Linked DNA regions of Homo sapiens: region 2 is linked to region 1. The links are contacts of gene promoters, found by promoter capture Hi-C in blood cells and fetal thymus (Javierre and others, 2016). All regions are on one chromosome and are shown on one strand. Each heading gives the region's core, a stretch centred on a gene start or on the middle of the fragment in contact. The rest is flanking DNA. Distances are from core to core; before and after follow the strand shown. Region 1 holds the start of HBS1L (HBS1 like translational GTPase). Region 2 has its middle 32 kb from the start of MYB.

What was found. Contacts are between HindIII fragments. The CHiCAGO score rates a contact against its expected background, and 5 or more counts as called.
Region 2: a contact is called between a fragment that was not itself captured here and the fragment with the promoter of HBS1L in region 1, in 3 of 17 cell types (activated CD4 T cells, erythroblasts and non-activated CD4 T cells). The highest score is 8.7, in activated CD4 T cells.

What each region holds. Positions count from the first base shown.
Region 1 is chr6:135,053,406-135,056,567 of GRCh38, forward strand. It overlaps HBS1L (HBS1 like translational GTPase), which reads right to left and starts at 1,417. Exons shown (of 18, transcript NM_006620.4): 1 at 1,244-1,417. The coding sequence starts at 1,286. It overlaps LOC124901405 (a long non-coding RNA gene), which reads left to right and starts at 1,488. Exons shown (of 2, transcript XR_007059775.1): 1 at 1,488-2,081. RefSeq lists an enhancer at 1,576-1,625. The HindIII fragment of the contact is 2,164 bases long and covers 1-2,118 here.
Region 2 is chr6:135,147,475-135,150,636 of GRCh38, forward strand. No RefSeq gene overlaps it. Among named protein-coding and RNA genes, the nearest start is that of MYB, 32 kb to the right of the region's middle. The HindIII fragment of the contact is 7,399 bases long and covers 1-3,162 here.

The sequences.
Region 1 (3,162 bases), core at 167-2,666:
ATGATAAACAACTATTAAAGAAATGAATGAATAATAAATAGGCCTATTCATGTACTTTATATTTGCAAAAATCTCTCTCAATCTAAAGTCATTTCTTAGGTGACAATGGTCCACATGCAATACCATCCACTGCAATATTTATTTAAAAGGGCCTCCATTCTAAAGTAACCACCAGAAAATTCACATGTTCTAGACGGACTGAGGTCACAGGTTCCAAATGGAGAACAGGGTGTTAGCTGCCCTCACTCTAGTTAAAGCATACTGATGTTCTATAATAATCTACTGGGGTGCCAATGACAATCACCAACATATTAAGCACTACATGTTCTGCACTTCGTAAAGCATAGTTCTTTATTCTTCTCCTGCATTAGTTCATTTTTGTTTATATTTTTAGTTTATGTGATGCTTGGTGATGCCTATAGTTATCTACTGCATGAAGAGGGATGTGCTCCTCCTAAAAATAATTCTAACTCCTGTTAACTCCTACAGAACATTCATACAGACATTTTTATTTCATTTTTTAATATCAAAAAGTCCTTTCCTATACACTCTTTCCTCTAGTACTGCCGTTTATTTACATTTCAAAATACATTTATATCAAGCATTACCAGCCAAGAACTAAGTATAAACTTCAAGATCCATCTGATCGACTCATTCTTTGGGCCTTTTTAACATGTGTCTTTTCTACCGTCTCCTAAGTTTCCACTTTGAAATTCGTTGAAAAATAAATTAGCGCAAACTGATTCTGCACTAGGTATGTATGGACATACACAAAAGGTTTACCATGTAAATCTAACACAGGTACACGTCCGTTGAATGTATTAAGTCAATCTGTGTTTTACAAATAAGCAACGTTTCATGGACATTTCTCAAAGGGGATCTGGGAGAGAGGAGCTAGAAGCAGGCACGTTAGTGCCCAACATGGGAGGAAACAATGGAAGAGGTGATAATGCTTACGTGCCTAAATATCACCGGATCTCAACCTCACCAATATCCTACCCATATGACGCTATGCAGCACCTCCCCCTCCCCAAATAAAATCAACCCCAGAGGGCAGAAATCATGACTTAAAAACGACGGCATTTGAAAGCACTAGAAGGCCTGTTATATTCCCCAACTGGGGCTCTCCCAATCCCGACAGGGCAACACTGACGAGAAACTCACAGATTGAAGTGGATGCCAACGGGCTAGGATCCCAGCTGTAGCCGGGAAAAGAACGTCCCGGCATGACCCTGCCACCTACCTTCATCGTAGTTATAGCCTCGAACATTCCGATGCCGGGCCATGACGGCGGAGAGGGCGTTTGCCACAGCCCCTTAACTCCTTCCAAAACACTCCGCTTAGATACTGATAAGGCGCCAACTGCAGCCTGGAGAACCCCTATGCGCCATCTTGGCTTCCCGCAGGCCTCTGCGCCGAGCGCCTGCGCAAGCGCGACGTCTTAGCTGTGCACCGCGCGACGGCAATGCCTCAGGGTCACTGTCCGCCTCCCTGAGGGCGCATGCGCACTGCTGTGCATGGCGGGACGAGGGGAGGGAGCGTTTGGGAGTGGCCCCACCCAAAGGTTGGGCGACGGAGGGGGATGGGGAAATCCGCCGCCTAGAATTGACTGGTTTGGACTAAATGTTGCAAGCGGGGAACCTTGAGCTACCTACGCCAGCGTTCTGGATTATTTTCCAAATTTGGTTCCTGATAATCTGAGAAAGCTATGCGCTCAGTAAGAGCAGGGACCTTGTTTTATCAAACTTTGATCTTTCATTAAGCACACAGTGGGCATTCAACAAACTTGTGTAAACTTGGAATCAGATTTAGCCCAGGCCGGTGCGGTGGCTCCTTCCTGTAATCCCAGCACTTTGGGAAGCCTAGGAGGGCGGATCGCTTGAACTCAGGTGTTCGAGACCAGCCTGAGCAACATAGCGAGGCTCCGTCTCTACAAAAAATACAAACACTAGCCGGCCCTGTGGTGCAGACCTGTAGTCCCAGCTACTGAAGAGGCTGAGGTGGGAGGATCCCCTGAGCCCAGGCGGTCGAGGCTGCAGTGAGCTGAGATCGGGCCTCTCCATTCCAGCCCGGGCGACAAAGTGAGTGAGACCTTATCTCAAAAAAAAAAAGAGTCCAAGCTTTAGAGAAGGAAATAAGGCTATTTTTAAACGGGTATATATTATTAAATTGAGACCCTGGCTATATTAGGTCACCCTGCATTCATATAATTTACGACTTCATGTATTCACTCCGTTCGGCATTACTATCCCTAGTAAACAGCGATTTGCCCTTAGCTATGTAAACGATTTTAGCTATATAGACGATATTTATCAGCATCATAAAGAAGGATTCACTGAACATTCATTGAAGACATAATTGTGTGTAACATTGCGAGTATTAAATATAGCTTTTTAGACATAGCACTGGCCTTAGGTGGTAATGCTGAATGTTGTTGATGCATGAATCTATAACCTGCTATTAAATGTCCTCATTTCTCAGAACATAAAGTTAATAATGCTATATAAGAAACCAACCTCATTATACTGAACACCACTTCAGTTTTAGCTTGTGTTTTTGAAATGATGATACTTCACATCAAAGGCAAATGTTGAGTTCTAGAGATAATTAAAAGCTTCCTCAGCTTTTTGCTATGCACAATAGAAAGAAATAAGAGTAATCCAAATTTAGTTTATATTTGTAAGTGGCTTGGAACGTAATTTATTCATGCATTTGAATGTGTTTGACTACAAAAATAGTTGTTTAATGTGGCTCCAAAATAAAAGTTTACAGAAAAATAGAGATAGTTGCTAATGTTACATGGCTTAAGTGTTTTTATTATTTTACACCCTTAGGTAATTTTTATTTTGCAGCCTGTTTCTTTGTAAAAAGGAGATAGAGACACTAACTCGCGAGCTGTGAATAATGTATCCGTATAAGAGGATTTATCACAGATCATAGTAGGTGCTTAAAAATATTGTGTTATTGGCCGGGCGCGGTGGCTGACTCCTGTGATCCCAACACTTTGGGAGGCTGAAGCAGGCGGATCATGAGGTCAAGAGATCAAGACCATTCTGGCCAACATGGTGAAACTCCCTGTCTACTAAAAATACAAAAATTAGCTAGGCATGGTGGCGCGTGCCTATAGTCCTAGCTACTCGGGAGGCTGAGGCAGGAGAATCG
Region 2 (3,162 bases), core at 298-2,797, 94 kb after region 1:
CACACTCCCTGATCGTGCTATCCAGAACTAACCATTTTCGGAGTGTGTTATTGGCCAAGATTGCCAACTGTAGGTCTGTGGGCCCATCCATCCTGCAGACATGTTTTGTTTGGGCCTGAGAGTGTTTAAAAAGATTTTTGTTTGGACATTTTACAGAACTTCTATTTTTCTCTCCTTCCTGTAGAAGATAGCTAATTAAAAAAAAAAGAACTTTAATTTTTTTTTGTAAAGAAATGGAAGATTCACTAACATTGGGCCCACATCCTGCATGGCAGCAAACAGTCAAAGCTAAGTAATTGCTGTTTGCTTGAAATGTGGCATGTTCTCTAGTTCTCTACAATCTCCACCCCTTTTCATTGCATCATTCTTAGCTGGTCATTCATTTTCTTTATCTGATTTGTCTCCATAGGGTCACACACTTTATAATTCCATATTGTTCCCTCATGCTAGTTCCTCTTTGGGAAATGTTCTGAGTTTCTCTCCCATATGCTTCTACTAGTGCCAACCCAGTATCTCCTCCTCTGTGAAGTCCTTCATTTGTGATCCTTTCTCATTCGTCTGTGATCCCTGATACACACTGTTAGCATAGGACTGACCACAATATATCAACATTCATTATAAACAACAACTCCCTGACTACTGGTCTCCTCAAGTACAAGAATCTCTGTTACTATTTATCTCTGTATCACCAATATTTAGCACTGATGATAATGAATGAGTAAGTATACAAGACAGTCATAACGTGATATAGAAAAGTCTCAATAAATTCCCATGACATTGAAGGGAAAGTGACTATTTTTTCTGAGTCAGGCGTCAATTGGGTTAACAGTGGTTGAAAGTGGAGCAAAAAAGTAGGGTAGCAATAAAGTTAAGAACACAAGCAGAATCCTTGCGTAAGAACAAATTCAGAAAGCAGTACATACCTTCCAAATACAGATAGGTAAAATAGAAAAAGAAGAAGAGAGGAAGGAGAAGGAGGAGAAGATGAAGGAGAAGAAAAGGGAGAAGAAGATGAAGACAACATGAGGAAAACTGTGAAGGAAACAGAGACATGAGGAGAGTATTTGTATTTACATTCTGTAGCTAAAACCATTTTCAAATGAAGTCGTATTGTTCTTACAATTAAGGAAAGTCAATTTCAGGAATTGTTTATAAACCAATTCCTCTACATTACAGAGATAAGAGGTTCAAATTGCCAAATGTATGTTATGGAAGGAAAAACAAAAACAAGGAGAAAGTAACTCCCATTTTTTTAAACCTTTCACTAAAGAATGAAGATGGGGACCAGGGGAATAGTGAACCCTTAACATCTGAAGGGTTTGACTGCTAGGGAGACCAGAAGTTAACTGTATTTTCCTAAAGCAACAATTAGCATTACAGGGTTTTAAAATCTCTTACGTTTGCATCTTAAATTAATTCTAGTAAGCAACAAAAATATGAAGGAACTGGTGAACAGTTGTTGACTGAATGAGGCACCTGAAAAGTAAAAATTATTTGCATGCATCATAACAACAAAACGAATACCCTGTGCTAGTAAACAGTCTTCTGGTGTGTGTAAAGCAGTTCTTTACTACTCTAAGAGGTACACGTGCTCTCATCTTCTTAGAGCACCTCCTTTAGCTTCTAAGCGAAGTACTCTGACAAATGCATGCCTACAGGTCTTTAAATGTATCCTTCATACCACCTATTATTAATGTACTCTGCCTTCTTTTCTATTAGCTGCTTAAAAAGGAAGAAGAAAGAGGCATGGAGCACTTGACCTAGAAGGACAAGTTGCCAATTTTTTAAATGAAAGAAAGGAAGTGTAGTGTCTGCAAGGTGACAGGTTTATGTGGGAGAGTTATTTTTGAATGACTTCAAGGTACCTCATATCGTTCTGGTATAACATCAACTGAGTGGTGTGCTCTTAATTTTTAAAAGTTTTTTCTCTCTTACAAAATCCTGTTGAAAATAGAAAACATGCACATGTAAGTATAAGCTACTAATTTCCTCAAGTGTCTTCTATGGAGTTACAAAACTCATGATGAAATAACAGCCTCTTTAAACACTGTGTTCAATATCTCTGACTTCAGTTTGTGCCGTTAGACGGTCCCCAGCATCCGAACATTCGTCCCCAATCCCATGCCCCCACCCCCAAAACCTCTGCTTTATAAGCAAATAAGACGTAGAAATGCTAAGAGGAAGAACTGAAATGGTTTCTGGGAGGAAGAAAGTATGTCTCCACATTATCATTCTAAACCATCTATGATCACGGTCAAATCCTTTCCTGTCACCAGTTTTTAAAATTAAATGTTTTATTTTACTTGAATGAACAGCAAACTGTATAGGTTTCACAGTCTATAAATATATATATTTTAAAACTGGTTCCTTGACTCTGTTTTCTTCATCCTAGGGATCTAAATTGCTTCCTTTGGAAAACTGACTAAAATTTCACCAGGACAGTTAAGACAAAGTAACATTAGTTGTAGTTTTATTTTTTATAGTTATATGCAATAGCTATAACTTATTATAGTCTGATTATAATCTTCTATTCCTGTTCTTTGCCATAAGCGATTTTGACTTTTAAGAGACTTTTGACTTGTAAGAAGAATGCAAAATTTATTATCTATTTTCAATAAATTAGTCAGAATAAGATCTTACCTATTATTTTCTTTTTTTTTTTAGGCATCCATTAATTTTATTCAGTAGCGAAAAGTACTTGGAAATAAATTTTGGAATTTTTCAGTTCATGCCTTATTTGGTACTGGATATTCTGCAAGTTTATCCAGGACTTCCTGGACTTTTTGTATCCTGTGCTTACAGTGGGATGTTAAGGTATGAACTATGACTCTAATAACACATGATTTCCCGGTTGTATCTTTCTTTTTTCTTTCTTTTTTTTTTTTTTTTTAAATTACACTTTAAGTTCTGGGATACATGTGTAGAACACGCAGATTTGTTGCATAGGTATACACATGCCTTGGTGGTTCACTGCACCCATCAACCTGTCATCTACATTAGGTATTTCTTCTAATGCTATCCCTCCCCTAGCCCCCAACCCCCAACAGGTCCAGTGTGTGATGTTCCCCTCCCTGTGTCCATGTTCTCATTGTTCAACTCCCAATTATGACTGAGAATACGTGGTGTTTGGCTTTCTGTTCCTGTGTTAGTTTGCTGAGAATT